7 separate regions of the Homo sapiens genome follow, and regions 2, 3, 4, 5, 6 and 7 are each linked to region 1. The links are contacts of gene promoters, found by promoter capture Hi-C in blood cells and fetal thymus (Javierre and others, 2016). All regions are on one chromosome and are shown on one strand. Each heading gives the region's core, a stretch centred on a gene start or on the middle of the fragment in contact. The rest is flanking DNA. Distances are from core to core; before and after follow the strand shown.

Region 1 (3,154 bases), core at 376-2,875:
TGTTACTGATGGCTCTTCCTGAGCATGTGAACCATGGTCCTCTTCTGCCTCCTAGCACTGCTGCTGCAGGACTTGTTCCTCGGGTCTTATCCCAGAGTTCTGGCTGCATTTGACATTCAGGTATTCTTCTTTGCACTTCAGATAGAATGTAAAACACAGGTTCTTGAGTACTTTATGCTTAACTCTTGTCTTTGCTACTCAATAGCTTATGATCTTGAGTGAATTATGCCATTTTATCCCACTTCACTCACCTGTAAAACGGGGATTAAATTTTTACCTCCAAGAGTTCTTTATTTAGTATTTAGTCATCACATGCTTATTGGGCACCTACCATGTGCTGAAGATAACTGGCAAAGTCTCACGGAGCTTACATTCTAGTGTGGGAGACAGTGAGCAGGCATGATAATTACAGACTAATGCTTCATGCTTCAAAGGGAATAGGATGATGAGAGAATAACTGCGGAAGGCCTGAGGTGACATTTGAGTTCAGACGTGAGAATGAGACAGCTGAGGGAAGAGCATCCAAGGCAAAATGAACAGCAAGTGCAACAGCCCGATGACGGGAAGGGCTTGGCATGTCTGAGAAAGATAAAACAGGTGTAGCTGGAAATGCCAAGGAATGGGGAGAGTGTTGTGAGGTGAACTTAGAAATGTAGCAATAACTAGATATGGTCTTTAGGTGGTGGTTAGTTTAGATTCTGTTCTTTGAGCAAAGGGAAACCATTAGAGTTTAAAGCATGAGTGACATCTAATTTTTGAGGTAAGTCTTAGTGGAGTGCTGGGTACATAGTAGTATTAACTACGTAATATTTTAAAACAACGTGGGCAACTATATAAGAACAGATCATAGGGGGACAGGACAAGGAGTTCGAGTTAAGAGGCTGTTGTAGTCATCCAGGTGAGATGATAGTGGCTTGGGCTAGGTAGTGGCATGGGAATGGAGAAGTGGATGAATTCAAGATCTATTTTAGAGACTGCAGGATTTACTGATGGATTGGATGTAGAAGCTGTCAACAAGTGAAGAATCAAAATGACATTTACTGAGATGGTGAAAGTGAGAGGGGAGGGAATCAAGAGTTAAATTTTGGACATATTTAAGTTTGCAGTGCCTTGTAGACAATCCAGATGGAGAGACCAAGTAGGCACTGGTTATCAGTACGGATCTCTCTGAGCGGTTCATCCTGGATATATATATTTGGGAATCGTATTCATTGCTAAAGCCAGGAAACTGGATAGTCACCCAAGGAGTGTGCCTGGAAAAGACCTAACCCCAACATCAGAGGCTGGACTGAACATGAAGACATATGAGAAAAACTAAGAGTACATATGGTATCTGGGAAGCCAGGAGAAGAGATGCCTGTGAGGACGAAATAAGATGCGGGTTATCAGCCGACCCCCACTAGGCGCTCGAAAAGCTATGTGTACTATGTTGCTGGCATCTACACAGTCAGGACTAATCACAGCAACACCCACCCAATCAATCCGCATGCACACCCCGCCCCCAGCCCCTGCGCCGGGCAGCCCCACCCCCGCCTTTTCGGAGCCCTCTGGGGCGACTCCGCGGCGGCCATCTTGACTGTGGGCAGCCGGCCGTGCGCCTGCGCGGTGGCCCTTCCATCCCGGCAGTCGTGGCTGCAGCGCTGAGGCGAGAGGTTGGTGGGTGTCTCCGGCCATAATGACCCAGGCTGAGAAGGGTGATACGGAGAACGGAAAGGAGAAGGGCGGCGAGAAGGAGAAGGAGCAGCGCGGCGTGAAGCGGCCCATCGTGCCCGCGCTGGTGCCGGAGTCGCTGCAAGAGGTGCGGCTCTGGCTGGGTTGGAACTCTTTGCCCTTGCTTGGGTCCTCCGCTGCCAGGCAAGGGGCGGGAGGCGGCGGGAGGCTTCGAGTCCCCCTTGCAGGCCCCAGCCCCTGGTGGGGGGAGTGCGGAAGCGGTCGTTCTTTTCCGGGTGGTGGCGCGCCGGGACGCCGAGGGCTGGGAGGTGCGGAGCGCCAGGAGCCAGGCGGAGCCCCCGCAGGGACACCGCTCCGATCTCCCGCACGCCCCACCGTCTGGTTGTGTGCGCTCCTGCCCGGGCTCTGGCCTCAGCTTCCCCGACCATAAAACGACCACGGTGATAACCAGCCGCCTCGCAAGTTGCCGTGAGGGTTAAATGGTGGCAGATAGAGTTTAGGACCAGGCTGGCTCACTGGGAGCGTCAGCCTGTGCTTGTTAAGGGATAGTTTGGGGTCCAGGCTTTTTCCTTTGTTAAGGAAATCTCAGATAATGGAAGTCATTTCAAGCTTAAAAGCAAGGAAATGGTGGACATTTGTCTAAATATATATTAAGAGCTTGTGTATCAAAAACAACACTATTAGACCAAACTAAACTAACCAGAAAAAATTATTTGCAGTAGCGTGCCTGGCAGAGGACCTTAGATGTATACACATACACAAAACCTTACTGATCAGTAACTAAAACAGCATTCACGTAGGAAAACGGGCACAGGCAGTGTACAATTCACAGAAGAAATGAGGCATAAACTGCTCAGAAATTCATGTAGGACATCTCTGATCCAGCTTCCTTACCGGTAGATGGGTTAAGGATAATACCTAACTAGTAGGGCAGCTACTAGTTAGTTATCACTAGTATGACAGTGCCTGGCACACCGTAAGCCCAGAGTGGCCATTACTGTTGCACAGGCCTGGTTTCTCCATCTGTCTAGTTGAGAAGGCTGACTGGATGGTCTGTAAGGGCCTTGCCAGATCCTTCCCTCTAGGATTCTCCCACTCTGTGGGGGGTGATTAGGAGGAGAGAGGTCACACTTGGAGATAGGACAACAGGTATCAGAGCATGGCATGGAATGGGCTTGTGCAGAGGGCAGTATTGGGCACTCAAGCAAGTACCTCCTCCATCCCCGACAGTCAGGGAGGGTTTCTTCAAAGGAGGTGAGGTGACATCTGTTTAGAGTCCTGAAGGTGATTAGGAGCTAACCAGAGGGAGGAGGGAATCTCAGGGAAGAAGAACAGTGTGGAAGACACTTGTGCCAACAGAGGATGTGAAGTGTTGGAGGCCCAGCCAGTAGATTAGGATGTCTGGAGTTAAGGAAGGGGACTGAAGATCTTAGCAGGGGCCATATCATGAGGGTCGTGTAAGCCACAGAGTCTGACCTCTTGT
Region 2 (3,154 bases), core at 334-2,833, 4.6 Mb before region 1:
CTGTGGAGATGCTTAAATACAGCAAGAAACAAACAAACAAAAAAAAAGCATGAAAAATTCCCTGTTATCCAATAGCTGGATAATGATCGGCTTCTGAATTCTGAATTGACGACCATTAGGAACATCTCTGAAACGATGCAGATGAATGAAATACAATCCCAAAGAATTTCCAGAATAGTTTCAATCTCTTCTACTGAATCATTTTCCAGAGCTACTAACAATTAGAAAATGATTCATTTGCTTTTCATCTTCTCTCCCTTCTGGCACAGTCTCCAGTGGAGGGCTTAATGAGAAGTTAAATGACCACAAGACAGGCAGCAGAAGGAAGATCTTGAAATGGGTATCAAATAGGCCTATTTTACTTGATGAAAGCAAAGAAATATCTAATATTTCAGAAAATCTACCAGGAATGGTAACAATAAAAAATTTTTCCTTTATAGTGACTTTCCTTACTAAAACTAAAGATGGTTTTGAAAGACAGCAAATGCAACCGAGCACAAACAGCTATAAAATTCAAAGAAGCCTCTGACCCTGAAAAATCAGTTCACCTGAAAAGATGTAACCTTTGATGCAAATAAAATTCTTGTGAAAACAACACTGCCCACTCCCCAAAGAATATAAAGCAGTGCTGAAAATTCAACCATGTTTAAGCTTCAAAGGTTATTGTGACTAATGTATAAATTCTGACAGTGTCATGTTAGCAGGTAATTAAGCTTAAGAAAACACATACTGAAGAATTTATAGAAACCTTAAAAGGAAGTATTAATTTTCTAAAGTAGCATATCTGAAGAAATGCATACATAATTCAGTAAGTTAATAACTTAAAAAAATAACCTAAGAACCCTTAAATGCCATTCTCCCTATCACTGCAGAATTGCAATTACAGGCCTAATGGTTATGATGAACTAACTTAACAAAAATATTCTGGGTTTATCATTCCTGCTATAGATTAAGAATTCTCCGGGGCAAAAGTCCTAATCCTATATAACTACCTATATGTTGCAATAAAAACCTCCAACGAATAATAAAAAACTCCAACTACTGACTTCCCAGAGTTTCCAGGCAGCCCTTTAAAAATGCTTTTTTACTGAAACCTTCGTGTCTGGTAGTCAGAAAAGACTCAATAAACTCCCTCTTTCTATACTTACCTTCAAAATTGCCTTGTATTGAGTTTTGCTCTTCTTGAAATGTGGGAGTTTGAAAGCGAAATACTTTTTATAGTAACTAGTTCAGCGACATCTAAAGGAGTCTTTGGGGTTAACATTCACATACAGGCCAGCATAAGTAGCCAGGCATACAAGGATAATGTGATTATGGTTAGATTATCCTTAACCATACCACTGCAGAAATGGATTTTTCTCTACAAGTAATCATTTTCTCTTTCTCCTTTCTCAACCATGTGGTCTAGAAGAGAGAAGCTATAGGTTTAAAAGTGACCTAATATTAAAAAGCTGTCACAAATAGTCACAAAATCATAACATTCCTCTTAACCCTCAGTTTCCGCAAGATAAAACGGGATAATACCACCTTCCCAAAACGGGGTAATTACACCATTTAGGCACAACACAAAGGCAAAAATTGGCCTATAAGAGTAACACATCAGGACAAGGAAAGAGAACAGGTTCCCAGGGAGGTCCTGTAGTTGAATTCTGCTCCGTTACTGATTATGAGACCCTGAGAAAATCACTCTTTATGCCCAGCTTCTTCTTTGGGGAAATGGAGAAAATAAGGGAGATCATGAATATAAAACCATCTGTAAACTAGCAAGTATTAGACAAATGTGAAAACATTAGTGGCAGCAGCATAAACAAAATTTCTAGGTTAACATGAGAAACTTGAGTGTGAACACAAGTAATTTAGAGCATTGGCCTGGAGACGGCAAATATGGAGGAGGCAGCCTCTTAATTTGCTTCAAATCTCCCCAGGTCCTCCTTTTCCCAGAGCTCCAGAAGGGAGAACTATATACAGGTAAAGGGGAGTGTCTAGTTTTCCCAGAGTTCACCAAACACCTGAGCTCCTGATCTCAGAAGGAACTTCTTTAAAGCATGACTCGGGATTATCTCCAAGTTAAAGCTGAATCCAAATACATACAGGTACTCCATTTTAAATGGACCCCAAATATCAAAATCCAAGCGCACTGAAGGATTCATAGGGTTCACCCTAAGATTCCTTTAAGTAGTAATGCTTTGGTTAAAATATGATTTATGAAAATTCAAATCACAAAACTTTGGAATGGCATCCATGGCTATCCTGACCACTCCATCGTTCATATCTAAGGCATAGCACAAAATCAAGTATCAGTATGGACTGATGGTTTCGGCCAAAGAGAAAATACTCTCAACCTACCAACCCTGCTGACAAACACATTTTCCTTTTCCTAGCTACATATTCGTTCATTTGAAAACATCTCAATCTTGGGCTCAGGACTGTGCTACATGCTGTCCCCAAGCTTCTCTCCTATCCCAGGATGATTCAAGTAATAGGGCATTTGTGACAGCGAAAAAAAGAACATGCCAGGGGGATATAGAAGAGATACTTAGGCTACCCCAAATATTCTTAGCCGAGCCGGGTCATCCCAGGTCACTTTGCCACCCAAACCTCTTCTATCACAAAGTCCTAAAATTGGATCCATCAACTTGTTCTAGAACTGGTATACTTGAACAGAAACATGGTAACTTCGGCAGAATATCCAAACAGGATCTCTGTCACGTTTCATTTCCCCGTCCCACCCCCAGACACAGCCTCCACCACTGTCAGCCCAGCAGGTGCTGCCAGGGCTCCCCATTACCATGGCCATTTATCACCTCTGACATCAAGCATTAAAAACGCCACCACACACACACAAATCTAGGCATAAAGAACTCAGCTGCGATCTGAGAGTCTCTTCAGGGCAGAAAATCCCAAAGGCAGGGTTTTGAGTCCTGCCTCAAGCTTTAAACTAGGGCAATTGGTGGCTAATAAGCGCCATCTCCCAAAAACAATCATTTTCGAGCACACCCCAAATATCTCCGTCCGGGCCGCCCTTCGCTGCTGCCCCGCCAGCGAAGCCCCCGCAACCCGACCCGGCCAGGGGTAGGGCGGGCGATGCTCCGGGCCCGGACGAGGGGCGCGCCGCGGGGCTCCGAACCCGGGCCCGCAGAAACCGCGCATCCCC
Region 3 (3,154 bases), core at 254-2,753, 4.6 Mb before region 1:
CCCCTCCTCTCCATCTGGAAGTTGCCTCCTAGTCTGCCTCTGTTGCTGCCACAGACTTCCCAGCATCCGCCTGTTCTGCCTTTGCCTCCACCCCCTCCCATTCCCAGTCAGCAACCTACTGGAAGTTGCAAATTCCTAATTTGGCAGCCTGCAGCTGTGATCCATAGAAGGGAATGTTTGGAATGTCTTGGGGATGGGTGGAGACTGGGTGCTCAATTGTCCCATCTGACCCCCAAGGGCCAAATTAAGACTAATGAGCTTCCAGAGGTTGTCCCTATGGCCAAGTGTTTGGCACCTCCCCATAAGGGAGGAGACCACCCCTCATATTGTCTTATGCCCAATTTCTGCCTCCAAAGAAAGAAAAAGTAAAAACTAAAAGGCAGAAATGAAATCCACAAACAGACAGCCTGGTGCCACACCCTGGGCCTGGTAAAGATCGACCCCGACCTAATCGGTTATGTTAACTATAGATTACAGACATTGTATAGAAAAGCACTGTGAAAATCCCTATCCTGTTCCAGTCTAATTACCGGTGCTTGCAGCCCCTAGTCACATACCCCCTGCTTGCTCAATCAATCATGACCCTCTCACGCACACCTCCTTAGAGCTGTGAGCCCTTAAAAGGGACAGGAATTGCCCATTCAGGGAGCTCGGCTCTTGAGACAAGAGTCTTGCCCATGCCCCTGGCCGAATAAACCCCTTCCTTCTTTAACTCGGTGTCTGAGGAGTTTCGTCTGCGGCTTGTCCTGCTACATCCATAGGGCCGCCCTTCTCTAAAGTTGTTGTAACCTTCCCCCAAGCAGGAATCCACTTCTGCTTTAGGAAGCAGTGGGAAAAAGACCATGCTTTAGAGTCAAGACAGTCCTAAATTAAAATATCGGCTCATTTAATCAATTTCTGCTTCAGTTTAACCGTCTTCAAAATGGAGATAATAATAACACTAATTACCCAAGTGGGGTACTGTGAGAATGAGCTATACAGCACATATCTCAATGCTTGGCTCACAGTAGGTGCTTAATGCAATCAATGAAAGCTATGATGTGCATTATAAGGAATCAACAGACAGCACTGTCCAGGGAAGACTAGACTCACTCATGAAGTGTTAAGTTCCCCATCAGTAGAGCGTGTGCAAGCACTTCTTGGTGCCCAAAGGATTCCAGCACCCACAACAGGTTGGCCTAACTCTTAAGGTCTCTCCAGCTTCCAGAGATCATGCTCCTCAGGGTCTGACTTCTAGTCCCCACGCTTCAAGTAACACCGACCAGGCACGTGTGCCCAGCGTGCACCCCGCCTGTCGGTCACCGCCTACTGTCAATAAAGTTGATTTGAGGCGGCTCCAGGCAGAGGGGCACGGCCACCCACACGCCACCTCAGCCCGGCCCCGCGGCCCCTCACCCGGTGGGCGGGTGGGCGGGTCACGCAGCCGGCGCGCCTTGCCATTGGCCCGCGCCGGTGGAGGCGGGGCCTGCTCACGTCTGCCGGCCCCTCTGTTGTCGTTTGGCAGCGGATAGAGGACACGACCAAGATGGCGGCGGTGTCTGGCTTGGTGCGGAGACCCCTTCGGGAGGTAGGCAGCAGCGCGCGGCCTGTATTCCCACGCGACCCCTGCCCACCCTGCGTCCCGCCGTCATCTTCCTCTCTCCCTGCCAGGTCTCCGGGCTGCTGAAGAGGCGCTTTCACTGGACCGCGCCGGCTGCGCTGCAGGTAACAGGCGCGGGTGCTCGTCGGACGAGGGCGGGGAGGGTCCCCCCTTCTCTCGGGAAGGAGGCCGGAGTCGCGCCTGCGCTGTGGCCTTCCGGCGCCGTGGGCCTTGGGTTTGCGGAGCCAGCATCCTCCGTGGAGCTCCTGCTGCCTCTGTCGCCGCCTGGCAATTAGCACACCGGCGAGTCACCACCTCACAGCTGGCTGGGCAATGGGGGAAAACTAAGACTAGGCGTTTCCTCCCTCACTCCATGTTTTTTTCTTTAAATTGCAGCAAAATAGACCTAACTTAAAATGTACTTTTTAGAAGTGTATAATTCAGTGGCATTAAGTACATTCACCATGTTGTACAACCATTAACCACCATCCATTTCCAGAACTTTTTAATCATCCCAAGCAGAAACTGTCCATTACTCGGTAACTCCTCATTTCCCTTCCCCAAACCCCTGGTAACCCCTGTTGTACTTTTCTGTCTTTATGAGGTTGCCTATTCTAGAACTTCTTATAAGTGGCATCATTTGTCCTTTTGTGTCTGGCTTATCTCAGCGTAATGTCCTCAAGGTTCATCCATGTTGTAGCATGCGTCAGAGTTTGATTCTTTCCTAAGGCTGAATAATATATATATGTATATTTTTTTGAGATAGTCTCCCTCTGTCACCCAGGTTGGAGTGCAGTGGCGCGATCTCAGCTCACTGCAACCTCCACCTCCTGGGCTCAAGGGATTCTCGCGCCTCACACTCCTGAGTAGCTGTGATTAGATGCCGGTGCCACCACACCGGGCTAATTTTTGTATTTTTAGTACAGACAGGGTCTCACCATATTGCCCAGGCTGGTCTTGAACTCCTGGCCTCAAGTGATCTGCCTGCCTTGGCCTCCCAAAGTGCTAGGATTACAGGCATGAGCCACCTCGCTCAGCCCGACATTTTCTTTTTTTTTTTTGAGACGGAGTTTTGCTCTTGCTGCCCAGGCTAGAGTGCAGTGGCACTATCTCAGCTCACTGCAATCTCTGCCTCCTGGGTTCAAGCAATTCTGCCTCAGCCTCCCGAGTAGCTGGGATTACAGGCACCCGCCACCACACCCGGCCAATTTTTGTATTTTTAGTAGAGAATGGGTTTCACCATGTTGGCCAGGGTGGTCTCGAACTCCTGACCTCAAGTGATCCACCTGCCTTGGCCTCCCAGAGTGCTGGAATTACAGGTGTGAGCCACCGTGCCTGGCCTTGTTTTGTCTATTGTGAGTAATGCTGCTGTGAACATTGATGTGCAAGTATATGCTTGAATCCCTGCTTTCAATTATTTGGGGCATATACATAGAAGTGGAATTGATGGATTGTATGTTAATTCTCCTCTCCTTCCTTTTTTTAACTAGATTTTACCATTCATTATATTAAAAGAGCAACTCCTACATTCTGGATGCAAAGTATTTGGCAGTACTTGGCACCTAGTGAGCACTC
Region 4 (3,154 bases), core at 278-2,777, 4.4 Mb before region 1:
CAGATGTGGGAAGAGGTGGAGAAAGCAAACACAGACCCCACAGACCCAAGTATTATCTTTCTCAAAAAAGCTTGATTTCAGAAGCTGCCAGAACTTGCTTCAAATGCATCCTCTGCCACTTACCTACCTCCCTCATCTGTCACATGGAGAGATTATTAGCATCTACCTCACAGAGTTGAGGGAAAAAGAGTTGATGGTATAAAGTGTCTGGCACCCCAGGAAACCCTCAGTAATGGGAGAGGGTTCCTGTAAGCCAGCTGCCTGGCAAATGTATCCTGCCAGGTGGCCCAGGAAAACCAGAGCAATTCCTGTATTTTGAACTTCAAGGAACAATAGATAATTTTCACCCTGCTGCAACAAACCCTGAAAATGAAGTGTCTTCCCAGTTGCCTGAATTCTCTCATGCTGTCTTATTAATTCAGAGCGGAGGATAAAAGAGATGCCTTTGAATGATAAAGACAAAAAACTTGTTTTTTGGCTGGGTGTTGTGGCTCAGGCCTGTAATCCAGCACTTTAGGAGGCCGAGGTGGGCAGAACACCTGAGGTCAGGAGTTCAAGACCAGCCTGGCCAACATGGCGAAACCCTGTCTCTACTAAAAATACAAAAATTAGCTGGGTGTGATGGTGCGCACCTGTAATCCCAGCTACTCGGGAGGCTGAGGCAGGAGAATTGCTTGAACCCAGGAGGCAGAGGTTGCAGTAAGCTGAGATCACGCCACTGCACTCTAGCCGAGATGACAGAGCGAGACTCTGCCAACAAACAAAACAAAACAAAAAACAAAAAAAAACTTTTGTTTTTCAACTAAATTTTATATTAAAAAATCGTTTTTGGACAGTGTCTCACTGTCACCCAGACTGTAGTACAATAATGTGATCATGGGTCACTGTAGCCTCAACCTCCCAGGCTCAACCGATCCTCCCACCCCAGCCTCCCAAGTAGCTGGGACTACAGGTGCATGCCACCATGGCCAGCTAATTTTTAATTTTTTTGTAGAAACAGGGTCTCACCATGTTGCTCAGGCTGGTCTTGAACTCCTAGGCTCAAGCGATCCTTCTGCGTTGGCCTCCCAAAATGCTGGGATTACAGGTGTGAGGCACTGCACCATGCCTAAATTTTATCTTCTGAATAGGTACTGTAGGCTTACAGCATACATTTCAAATGACATAAAGGGATAGATATTAAAAAGTGAGTCTCCCTTCCACCTCTTCCCCTGTCAGCCTCTCCCCTCTCCAGGAGCAACAACTAGTATGAGTTTCTTAAGTGTCCCCTGAAAAATATGATATGGGGGCTTTTACCTCTTGACGATGTATCTAAAATTGCTCCAAATCAAAACACACAAGGCTGCCTCAGTCTTTTTTTCTTTTTTTTTTTGGAGACAGGGTCTTACTCTGTGGTCCAGGCTGGAGTACAGTGGTGCAAACATAGGTCACTGCAGCCTCAAACTCCTGGGCTCAAGTGATCCTCCTGCCTCAGCCTCCAGAGGAGCTGGGACTACAGGCATGTGTCACCACACCTGGCTAATTTTTTTGATTTTTATTTTTAGAGAGGGGATCTTGCTATGTTGCCCAGGTTAGCTGCCTCAGTCTTTATGAAAGTTACCCTGTACTGCATTGGGTGGAGCCAGTTAGTTCTTAAGAGGACCATTTCAGGTACCCTCTGTGTTTCAGAGCAAAGTTGTTGGGGTCGGTCTCTATTTTATGTCCCTGAAAGGTACGGCAGCCAAGAATGAGTTAAGTCCACACTTCCCCTCTGCTGTGTGGCTCCCCTCCCTGCCTTACTTATTGGTGCCAAATGGATTTTTCTAAAGCTGAGGAGCTTTCTCAACTTGGGGAAGAAAAGGCAAGAGAGAAGGGTCCAAGTGAGATTCCAGTCCCCCTGTTCTCCATTGATTTAATGGAAAACACCCCCTATGTCAGCAGATTGTGGAGATAGGACAAAGGAAGTGAAAATGATCAGAAGTTAAAACCTATGGAACTGTAGCCATTGTTTCTGTTTCGAGAATAAGATCACATAGTTTAGGGAGATTTGCCAAGTACCAGCTAACTTGCTCACATTATTCCATCAACCATGCAATGTCACTATAATTACCACTTTTCACAGATGAAGAAAATGAAGCTAAGTCATTTATCTAAGGTGGTGAGAGGCTCCAGAGCCTAAAAAGCTGCATTCCATCCCTCCCATGTGGAAGACCAGTCTGGGAGCTGCTCCTTTGAGGCAACTCAAGTGTCATCAACTCAAGCGTCATCTCCAAACAAGAAACTCTGAAAAGCAGGCAGTGCTTTAGAATCCCTAGAAGCCAAGCCTGAGAGAGAGACCCTCACGGAAGTGATTTACTGGGAGATGGCCCCCAAGTGAAATCTGTAAGGGAGGAGGGAAGCAAGATAGGGCAGGAGAAGAAGCCAAGCAAAGATGTGGATTTGAAACCGGTCCAATCATCCCACAGAACTGATGCTTACGGTTTCTTTTGAGTATATGTAGAGATTGACCTTCTCATCTTAAAATTTGAGAAGTTACATTTGTCTTATCTGAGTTCCTTTCTCAGTAAACCAACCATGAGGCTTCCCAGGTAGTATCAAGGAGCTGAAACTCACCAGATCACTGCATTTGGACAATGACAGTCCAGACCCTTCACCCTTCATGACTGCCTGTCTCCCACGACCTGCTTTCTGTTGACCAACTCCCCTTCCTTATCCTTCCCTGATTCCTGTTTTCCTGCATTTGTTATATTTCTGCTGTATAAACTCCTAATTTTAGTCAGTCAGGGAGATGGATTTGAGACTGATCTCCCATGTCCACAGCAGCAGCTCTCAAAGAAAGCCTTCTTCCCTGGCAATATTCATTGTTTCAGTGATTAGCTTTCTCTTTGGTGAGCAGCAGGACCTAGAAGCAACACTTGGTGTTTCAGTAACAGATTCAGCTGAGTCTAGCCTCAGCTGGATCCCATGGGGAGTCCTGGAGCATAAATGATACTAAGGAAGCTTCTAGGCTTTGAGGCAAGGGGGCCAAGCCTTCTATAGGTGTCATTGGCTGCTACCTATAGGGTTGCCAGATTTAGCAAATAAAAATATAGGATAGGCCAGGCACGGCGGCTCATGTCTGTAATCACAGTGCTTTTGGAGGCTGAGGCAGGAGGATTGCTTGAACCCAGGAGTT
Region 5 (3,154 bases), core at 263-2,762, 3.9 Mb before region 1:
TCACAATAAGGAAGCAGAGAGAAAAATCAAACTATATGGTACTTCAAAAGTTGCTCTGTTAATCCTACCTACCTTGAATACTCACTCACTGTCTTCTACTTCCTATATCCCAAGCTGCTTTCACTAAGCTATTACTTCATCTAACATTCCTTTTTGGGCCTAGGTGCGGTAGCTCACCCTGTAATCCTAACACTTTGGGAGCCTGAGGTGGGAGGGTTGCTTGAGCCCAGGAATTTGAGACCAGCCGGGCAACATAGTGAGACCTTGTGTCTTAAAAAAAAAAATCCAGCCGGGCGCGGTGGCTCATGCCTGTAATCCCAGCACTTTGGGAGGCCAAGGCGGGCGGATCACGAGGTCAGGAGATCGAGACCATCCTGGCTAACACGGTGAAACCCCATCTCTACTAAAAATACAAGAAACTGGCTGGGCGTGGTGACAGGCGCCCTGTAGTCCCAGCTACTCAGGAGGCTGAGGCAGGAGAATGGCGTGAACCCAGGAGGCAGAGCTTGCAGTGAGCCAAGATCGCGCCACTGCACTCCAGCCTGGGCAACAGAGCAAGACTCCATCTCAAAAAAAAAATAAAATAAAATGAAAATCCTTTTTGGAGATATAATTCAAACACCATACAATTGCCAATTTAAGTATACAATTCAGAGTTGTGCAACCATCGCCACAATCAATTTTACATTTTCATCATCCCAAAAAGAAACTCGTACCAATTTGGCAGTCATATCCTATGTTAGTCAAGGCTCTAGAAAAACAGAACCGATTGCATGTACATTTATATAGAGAGATTTATCTAATGGAATTGGCTCACGCAACTGGGGTGGGGGGTGCTGGCAAGTATGAAATTGGCGGGGCATATCATTAGACTAGGGATTCAGGGAAGAGCTGTTGTGTAGTCTTGAGTCCAACAGCTTTGTGAGGGCAAAATTCCTAACTTCAGGGGGACCTCAGTCTTTTTTTTTAAGGCCTTCGACTGATTAGAGAGGCCCACCCACATTATGGAGGGTAATATGCTTTACTCAAAGTATAATGGTATAAATGTTAGTCACATCTAAGAAATACTTTCACAGGAATATCAGGTTGGTGTTTGACCAAAAGTTGGTCAAGTGAAAAACTGATACCACAGCCTAGCCACACTGACATAAAATTAACCATCACATTCCTAATTACCCTCAGCCCCTAGAAACCACCAATCTTTGTTTCTATGAATTTACCTATTCTACACATTTCATATAAACAGTTGCCCAGGCTGAACTTGAAATCCTGGCCTCAAGCAATCTTCCTGCCTCAGCCTCCCAAAGTGCTAGGATTACAGGTGTGAGCCACCACACCTGGCCTGCTTGACTTTTTATGAGAATGTATTCCTGTTATTTGTATAAGTAAAAAATAAGAAAAGCTTGAAAGTCTATATTGGAAAATCCTTTCTGCTTGGCTCAGCTAGAATAAGTCAGTACTTATATATAAATAAAACTGTAAGCCTGAAAATATTGAGAAAATCTTAACACACAGTTTCTATGTGCTTAAATTTAAAATCCAACCCAAATTGTATACTTGACAAAAGATACAGTACTAACCACCAAACACGTCCATATTTTCAAGTGCCTATATAAGCTTTCCTTCTTTTCTTTACATTTGTCAGCTACTCTCTTATAAAGCATGAAAAATGTACATGGCCAAACAAGTTTTTCCAAGGCTGTTTCATTCATTTTCATATATACCCAAAGCCAAATCAGTTTGCCTGAATGCAAGCCCAAGAAAAAATATTGTATTTCTAGGAGTAGTAGAGGTAAGTTTTTAAAAATGTTAGCTGACTCAGAGAAATAATTAACTTGAGTTATTTCAGTCTTTGAAAGTCCGTAATATGACAAGTTTCGGTTATACATCAAAAAGCAATAGCTTAGATTACCTTTCAAGAGAGCAAAAGACAGATTTTCATAATAATTGCTCAGTCCCTAAGAAGACAGTTCAGAATAAATGTCTAATAGTTGGCTTTCATTTTGGGGGGAAAAAAACTCCCATAGTTACCACTAGATGATCTTGTACAAATAACCTCTAAACATCAAACTCTTTTTGGACAAAAGCGAGCCAGACTGCAGCTGTTTTACTTACCTTCTAAGAGTGTTATATAGACCAAATGAAACAAGAAAGCACTCTGATTATTCTAAAACCTTTTAAAATTATTTTGTGTGAAATTGTAATAGTTCATATATATAATTTCATATCACCAATCACAAGATTTGGATCTACGATCCAAAAACACTTAGCAAAATGTTTTGCAAACTGCAAGCTCTCAATAAATAATGACTTATACAAAGACTACATATTGATAATTGAGTCCATGATCTCAAATTGAGAACTAACTTGAATGACTTTCTGCCCTTTAACACTGCACAGGTTTGCAGAAATACAAACCGCTCCATTGTTCACATTTCCCTCATTCAAACATGAATGTAGTGCCTATTCTCTTGCTCTCAAGAGTTCACATCTGATGGGACAGTAGTACATTTGCATCATAGTTATTTTGTTGTTTATGTCCCATAATGAAATTATATACAGGCCGGGTGCAGTGGCTCACACCTGTAATCCCAGCACTTTGGGAGGCTGAGGCAGGTGGATTGCTTGAGGCCAGGAGTTCGAGATCAGCCTGGGCAACATGGTGAAATCCCATCTCTACTAAAAATACAAAAATTAGCCAGGTGTGCTGGGGGGTGCCTGTCATCCCAGCTACTTGAGAGGCTGAGGCAGGAGAACTGCTTGAACCCATGAGGTGGAGGCTGCAGTAAGCCAAGATCACACCACTACACTCTAGCCTGGGTGACAGAGAGGGACCCTGTCTCAAAAATAAAAATAAAAATAAATTTAAAAAAAAGAAATAAAGAAATTATACACAAAGTTAAATGGAAGTATAGAGGAAGAAGCAATTAATTCTTCAGTTAAAGGGAGTCAGGGAAGGTTTCACATTGGAACTGAGCCTTAAGGGATGACAAGAAGAGGTCATTCTAGAAGACAAAACAGCAAAAAAAGGCACTTGTTCTAGAAACAGTGAACACTGTCATACAGCTAGTACACAAAGTTTGGGGTGAAGAAAAAACAGTAATAAAAGAGAGAGCTAGAAAAAAAGAAAATAAGATATAGATTTTAATGCTAA
Region 6 (3,154 bases), core at 311-2,810, 3.9 Mb before region 1:
AACTAAGGCTCAGGCTCAAACATTAAGAAAAACATTAAGAATCTTAATATTCGATTGAGTGACTGAAAATAAGTCACCATGCTAGATCCAAAGTACATGCTGGGGTTTTTTCTTTCTAAAAATTATCTTTATTTTTATTTATTTATTTTTTGACAATATCTTGCTCTGTCACCTAGGCTGGAGTGCAATGGCACAATCACGGCTCACTGTAGCCTCAACCTCCCCAGCCCAACCAATCTTTCCACCTCAGCCTCCTTAGTAGGCATGTGCCACAGGCATGTGCCACCGCCATACCCAGCTAATTTATTTTTGTTTATTAATTTTTTCTTTTCTGTATACCTCGGATCCCCTGTGTTGCTTAGGCTGGTCTCAAACCCATGGGCTCAAGTGATCCTCCTGTCCGGCCTCCCATAGTGCTGGGATTATAGGCATGAGCCACCATGCCGGCCCCGACTGATTTTTTTGATTGATAAAAGAAACACATGCTCATTGCATATATTCAGGTAAGCAAAAATGAGGAAAGTAAAAGTCCTCTCTAGCCCCATCACAAATACTTAGTCTAATGCTACTGTTAACAATTTGTTAGCTGTATTCTTCCAGATGCTATTCTAAGCCACATGAAGCATGCCCTTTTAAAAATACCACATTTATTAGAAGTGGGAAGGTCAACACTAAGGGCCTTATTCTTAAAAGTGATAAATAATTTATATCAATAGCAAAAGGCCTGTATTGGGGCACGGGGACGAGGAAGGGAAGAAATTATGCTATTTTTTGTCACTCTTGTATAAGTCCCCTTTTGATTACTGGAAGTATCTGCTTGTTTTTTATAACTAATTTGAGAATGTTACTTGGAATGTAGCAAATGCTTAAGAGTAAAAGGGCTGGGTCAGAAAACCCCATGAGGCATTTTCTTTCTGAATTTTTATTGGTATATCTGGATTTGTTTCCAAATAACTTAGTTACCAAGTAAAATATCAGAGACTCTATATACGATGGCTTTGCTCATCAAATGATTTGTAACATATGTATATATAATAATTCCCTGCAAGTGTGGCACATAAAAATATATTTTAAGTACATACTTTATTCTAAGAAAACTATGATATTTTGGCCTGGCATGGTGGCTCACACCTGTAATCCCAGCACTTTGGAAGGCCAAGGCAGGAGGATCACCTGAGGTCAGGAGTTCAAAACCAGACTGGCCAACATGGTGAAGTCCTGTCTCTACTAAAAATACAAAAATTAGCCGGGTGTGGTAGCACACGTCTGTAATTCCAGCTACTTGGGAGGCTGAGGCAGGAGAATCACTTGAACCTGGGAGGTGGTAGCTGCAGTGAGCCGAGATCTCGCCATTACACACTCCAGCCTGGGTGAAACAGCAGGACTCTGTCTCAAAAAAAAAGAGAGAGAGAGAGAAAGAAAACTATGATATTTTGAATAATTGTTTTTGAATGTAGTTATTTGTGTTTCCTTTTAATAAACTTTATTTGGGCTTTTGTTTCAGAAAAATGCCTTGTTGCTACTGTATAATGTCATACATCAGCATCTCACTAAATGCCTATGTTTTAGAAAACTAATAAATATCTCAGGGATCTTTGGTCTTAAGGATTTCTCAGAAGATAGGTTGAAATGGATTGAAGAGACCTATACAAGGAAGTGACTCTGGAGTGCCTGCTCCTCCTGCACCCCCACTCCCTCAAAGCGTGTCAAGCATACAAGGCTGGGAGGAGGAGGTCTCATCTGTGTTTTTTGTTTTTTTTTTTTTGAGACAGAGTCTCGCTCTGTTGCCGAGGCAGTAGTGCAATGTGTCAGTCTCGGCTCACTGCAACCTTTGCTTCCGGGGTTCAAGCAATTCTCCTACTTCAGCCTTCTGACTGAGTAGCTGGAATTATACGCACTCGCCACCACACCCAGCTAATTTTTTTTTTTTTTTTTTTCAAGTAGAGAAGGGGTTTCACCATGTTGGCTAGGCTGGTCTCATACTCCTGACCTCAAGTGATCTGCCCGCTTCTGCCTCCCGAATGGTGGAATTACAGGCATGAGCCACTGCACCTGGCCAATCATCTGTAGATTCTTCACTGGGTTTTGTACAGAGCCGGTTTCATAGCGTATGACCTTTACGTAGGGCCCCGCTTGGAAGGACTATATCTAGTTGTACTCTGCTGTCTTGAAATTCTCGGTAACTTTTGAACAGATTTCTCATTTTCATTTGCACTGGACCCCTCAAATTATATAGCTGTTGCCAAGCGTGGTGGCTCATGCCTGTAATCCCAACCCTTTGGAAGGCCAAGGCTTTTGGATCACCTGGAGTCAGGAGTTCAAGACCAGCCTGGCCAACACGATTAAATCCCGTCCCTACTAAAAATGCAAAATTAGTATGGTGTGGTCGATCACACCTGTAATTCCAGCTACTCAGGAGGCTGGGGCAGTGAGCCAAGATCGTGCCCTTGCACTCCAGCCCAGGCTACAAAAGCGAAACTGAATAAAAACGAAAAAATTATATAGCTGTTCCTGCTTTGAACATATGGCTCAGGAACCCAGTCTCCTCTGTGCAAATCTAGCATGTTAACGAGCATGACACGTGAAATGCTGTAGAAGAAATTGGTGGGCTATTGACACTGAAAACGCTTCTCTAGAGAAATGAGATGCTTTAAGTGCAACCAGACAGGTCCGTCTCCCCATTTTCTGGTTATATGATAACTCAGGATCAGTGGCAAAGATGGTGGCAGAAGAAAACTTGATTTTGTAACTTCTCACTCTAGCTTAGACTCTGAAGTTAGTCTTGAAGACGATAATGAGAATAATATTGAATCAAGGTAGAACCTGTATCCACTAAAATTGTTCATTTTTCATATTTTCCTAAACTTTTTGTTATAAAAAATTTCAAATGTACAGAAATATTGAAATTACAGTGAACACACACAGAGCTCCTTGATTCTAAGTCGTTACCATTTTGTCATATTTGCCTTACCTGTGTGTTTTCTGAACTTTTTGACAGTAAATTGCAGAAATAGATCAACATGCCTTTACTACTAGAAACATTTTCCTAAGTAACCAAAATATGTGGAGTTTTGATGAGTTTTTTTGAGACAGGGTCTTGCTCTGTCACCCAGGCTGGAGTGCAGTGGCGAGATCATGGCTCACTGGAGCCTTG
Region 7 (3,154 bases), core at 437-2,936, 3.7 Mb before region 1:
AGGTCAGGCATTCAAGACCAGCCTGGTCAACACAGTGAAACCCCATCTCTACTAAAAATACAAAAAAAAAAAAAAATTAGCCGGGTGTGGTGGTGTGCACCTGTAGTCCCAGCTACTTGGGCAGCTGAGGCAGGAGAATCACCTGAACCCAGGAGGCAGAGATTGCAGTGAGCTGAGATAGCGCCACTGCACTCCAGCCTGGGTGACACAGCGAGACTGTCTCAAAAAAAAAAAAAAAAAAAAAGAAGGAAAGAAAAAAGGAAGAGATATGGTTTCCTTAATAAGCTTGCATTCTAATGAGACATAACAATCAGCAAAAATAATTATAGTTGTACCTGGGTATTTGGGGAGATTGGTTCCAGGATCCCCGTGATACCAAAATCTGCAGATGCTCAAGGCCCTTACAGTTGCCATTCTGCATCTGCAGGTTCCACATCTGCTATTGGCTGAATCTGTGGGTTTGAAACCTGAAGATACAGGGGGTCTGCTGTCTGTACATTATTAAACCCAAGGGACTGGAATGTAAATTCCATATACATATTTGTGACTAAAAAGATCTCACTAAGAAAAATAGTCAGAGGCTGGGCGCGGTGGCTCACACCTGTAATCCCAGCATTTTGGGAGGCCGAGGTGGGTGGACCACCTAGGTCAGGAGTTCGAGACCAGCCTGGCCAACATGGTGAAACCCCCTCTCTGCTAAAAATACAAAAATTAGCCGGGCGCAGTGGCATGTGCCTGTAATTCCAGCTACCCCGGAGGCTGATACAGGAGAATCGCTGGAACCCAGGAGGCAGAGGCTACAGTGAGCCAAGATCGCCCCACTGCACTCCAGCCTAGGTGACAGAGCAAAAAAAAATAAAATAAAATAACCAGAGATGAGGAAAACATACTACCTAGTGTAGTATGTTATGAGTACATGCTTTTGAGCCTGGGCAACTTTATACAACACTGTGTTCAAAAGCGATGATTAAATGAAGTACATGGCTTAGCAAGTGATCAATAAACTATAGCAATTTTTCTTGTAGGGCTCAATTTCCTCATTTTTAAAAATAAGAAAGATTCTCTTCTGGGTTTGTATTGATGAAAGGTGAATAGAAAAATATTTTATTTTTAAAATATTTTTTAAAATAGAAATGGCATCTCACTATATTGCCAAGGCTGGTCTGGAACTTCTGGGCTCAAGTGAGTCTCCCATCTTGGCCTCCCAACATGCTGGGATTACAGGTGTGAGCCACCATGCCTGACCTAGAAAAATAAAATAAAATAAAAATAAATTTGGGGTCTGGGCACGGTGGCTCACACCTCTACTACCAACACTTTGGGAGGCCAAGGCGAGTAGATCGCCTGAGCTCAGCAGCTGGATACCAGCTTGGGCAACATGCTGGTCTCTACAAAACGCCAACTCTACCAAAAATACATAAAATAGCTGGGCATGGTGGAATATGTCTGTGGTCCCAGCTACTTGGGAGGCTGAGGCAGGAGGAAAAAGGGAGGGGAGGGGAAGGGAGAGGAGGGAAAAGGGAAGGGAAAAGGGAACAGAAGGGGGAAGGGAGGGGAAAAGGGAAAGGAAAGGAAGGGGAGGGAAGGATGAAGGAAAGAAAAGAAAGAGAAAGAAAGAAAAGAAAGGAAAGAAAGAAAAAGAAAAGAGAAAAGAAAAGAATTTGGCCGGGAACAGTGGCTCAGGCCCATAATCCCAGTACTTTGGGAGGCCAAGGCAGACAGATTGGTTGAGCTCAGGAGTTTGAGACCAGCCTTGGCAACATAGCAAAACCCTGTCTCTACAAAAAATAACACTACTTAGCCAATGTGGTGGTGTACCTGTAGTCCCAGCTACTTTGGGGGCTGAGGTGGGAGGATCACTTGATCCCAGGAGGTTGAGTAAGCCGAGATGATGCCACTGTACTTCAGCTTGGGTGACAAAGTGAGACCCTGTCTCAAATAAATAAATAAATAAATGTAAGAAGGTAGTATAGTGTAGTGGTTAAGAGTGTTAATGGCTGGGTGCACTGGCTCACACCTGTAATCCCAACACTTTGGAGGCTGAGGTGGAAGGATTGCTTGGGCCCAGGAGTTCCAGACAGGCCTGGGCAACATAGCCAGAATCCACTTATTTATTAAAAAAAAAAAAAAAAAAAGAGTGTAAATACCAGTTAATACCAGAAGAAATGGGTTCTTATAGCTGTTCCACTGCTTTTAGCTGTGTGACCTTGGGCAGAATATTTAATCTCTCTGACCCTGATTATTTTTATCTGTACAATAGAGATATTACAGTCTGCCATTAACATCCTGTTTTGTAATTTACATTAGCCACTTGATGTGTAGTGTATTCTTACTGAAAAATCTGTTTTGACAACTTTTGTTTTGGTTCAGGTTTTGGAGGCTAGAGATGGAGAACAGAATTCTTTCGATTTATTTTGCATAACTAAACAGAAAACATGGATTAAGATTTGGAATAAGTTACAGGGAGGAGGGCTCATACGGTTTGTCTTTTGAATTTAAGAAGACCCTAAGAATTAGTTGAAGATTGTTTTAAGGAATTCTACTATATAAAACTAAAAACAGACATAAGGCCTAAAGTGTGAAAGGAAAATAAATCTTGGGGCCTCCACCTCACTAAGCTAAAGAGAAAAGTCAAGCTGGGAACTGCTTAGGGCCAACCTGCCTCCCATTCTTTAAAAAGTCACCCCTCTGCTCACTGAGATAAACGCATATCTGACTGCCTCCTTTGGAGAGGCTAATCAGAAACTCAAAGGAATGCAACCATTTGTCTCTTATCTATCTATGCCCTGGAAGCTCCCTCCCCACTCAGAGTCTTCCTGCCTTTGCTTTGAGTTGTCCAGTCTTTCCAGAATGAACCAATGTTCATCTTACATATATTGATTGATGTCTCATTTCTCCCTAGAATGTATAAAACCAAACCGTGCTCTGATCACCTTGGGCACATGTCTACAAGACCTCCTGAGGCTATGTCATGGACGCGTGTCCTCAACTTTGGCAAAATTAACTTTCTAAATTAACTGAGGCCTGTCTCATATTTTGGGGGTTCACAAAAGGATACAAGAAGGTCTTGTCACTTAGCAAGCTTCCAAAATGCAATTTTGAGTTATTCAACTGCTAAGCAACTCTTTACATGTATCTCCAATGCAAAGGAGGG

What was found. Contacts are between HindIII fragments. The CHiCAGO score rates a contact against its expected background, and 5 or more counts as called.
Region 2: a contact is called between a fragment that was not itself captured here and the fragment with the promoter of ACTR8 in region 1, in 2 of 17 cell types (non-activated CD4 T cells and activated CD4 T cells). The highest score is 13.1, in non-activated CD4 T cells.
Region 3: the fragment with the promoter of PDHB here is called in contact with the fragment with the promoter of ACTR8 in region 1 in 4 of 17 cell types (naive CD4 T cells, naive CD8 T cells, total CD4 T cells and 1 more); the score reaches 11.0 in naive CD4 T cells.
Region 4: a fragment that was not itself captured here is called in contact with the fragment with the promoter of ACTR8 in region 1 in 3 of 17 cell types (total CD8 T cells, activated CD4 T cells and naive CD8 T cells); the score reaches 7.6 in total CD8 T cells.
Region 5: a contact is called between a fragment that was not itself captured here and the fragment with the promoter of ACTR8 in region 1, in 1 of 17 cell types (non-activated CD4 T cells). The highest score is 5.5, in non-activated CD4 T cells.
Region 6: a contact is called between a fragment that was not itself captured here and the fragment with the promoter of ACTR8 in region 1, in 1 of 17 cell types (non-activated CD4 T cells). The highest score is 6.0, in non-activated CD4 T cells.
Region 7: a fragment that was not itself captured here is called in contact with the fragment with the promoter of ACTR8 in region 1 in 2 of 17 cell types (non-activated CD4 T cells and total CD8 T cells); the score reaches 9.5 in non-activated CD4 T cells.

What each region holds. Positions count from the first base shown.
Region 1 is chr3:53,880,623-53,883,776 of GRCh38, reverse strand. It overlaps ACTR8 (actin related protein 8), which reads left to right and starts at 1,625. Exons shown (of 13, transcript NM_022899.5): 1 at 1,625-1,798. The coding sequence starts at 1,676. RefSeq lists silencers at 1,409-1,498, 1,889-1,998 and an enhancer at 1,659-1,738. The HindIII fragment of the contact is 9,111 bases long and covers 1-2,282 here.
Region 2 is chr3:58,492,403-58,495,556 of GRCh38, reverse strand. All of the region lies in intron 1 of KCTD6 (potassium channel tetramerization domain containing 6), which reads right to left. Among named protein-coding and RNA genes, the nearest start is that of KCTD6, 1.9 kb to the right of the region's middle. The HindIII fragment of the contact is 1,736 bases long and covers 716-2,451 here.
Region 3 is chr3:58,432,181-58,435,334 of GRCh38, reverse strand. PDHB (pyruvate dehydrogenase E1 subunit beta) reads left to right here and starts at 1,503. Exons shown (of 10, transcript NM_000925.4): 1 at 1,503-1,567; 2 at 1,651-1,704. The coding sequence starts at 1,526. It overlaps LOC107986092 (a long non-coding RNA gene), which reads right to left and starts at 1,740. Exons shown (of 4, transcript XR_007095933.1): 1 at 1,093-1,740. RefSeq lists enhancers at 1-485, 1,528-1,747 and a silencer at 1,228-1,467. The HindIII fragment of the contact is 4,898 bases long and covers 1-3,154 here.
Region 4 is chr3:58,301,133-58,304,286 of GRCh38, reverse strand. No RefSeq gene overlaps it. Among named protein-coding and RNA genes, the nearest start is that of RPP14, 3.5 kb to the left of the region's middle. The HindIII fragment of the contact is 2,909 bases long and covers 73-2,981 here.
Region 5 is chr3:57,766,626-57,769,779 of GRCh38, reverse strand. All of the region lies in intron 2 of SLMAP (sarcolemma associated protein), which reads right to left. Among named protein-coding and RNA genes, the nearest start is that of SLMAP, 12 kb to the right of the region's middle. The HindIII fragment of the contact is 215 bases long and covers 1,405-1,619 here.
Region 6 is chr3:57,749,043-57,752,196 of GRCh38, reverse strand. No RefSeq gene overlaps it. Among named protein-coding and RNA genes, the nearest start is that of SLMAP, 5.7 kb to the left of the region's middle. RefSeq lists an enhancer at 1-613. The HindIII fragment of the contact is 7,472 bases long and covers 1-3,154 here.
Region 7 is chr3:57,598,834-57,601,987 of GRCh38, reverse strand. It overlaps ARF4-AS1 (ARF4 antisense RNA 1), which reads right to left. Exons shown (of 2, transcript NR_132370.1): 2 at 1,072-1,245. It also overlaps a transcript of PDE12 not described here. Among named protein-coding and RNA genes, the nearest start is that of ARF4-AS1, 2.6 kb to the right of the region's middle. The HindIII fragment of the contact is 2,797 bases long and covers 288-3,084 here.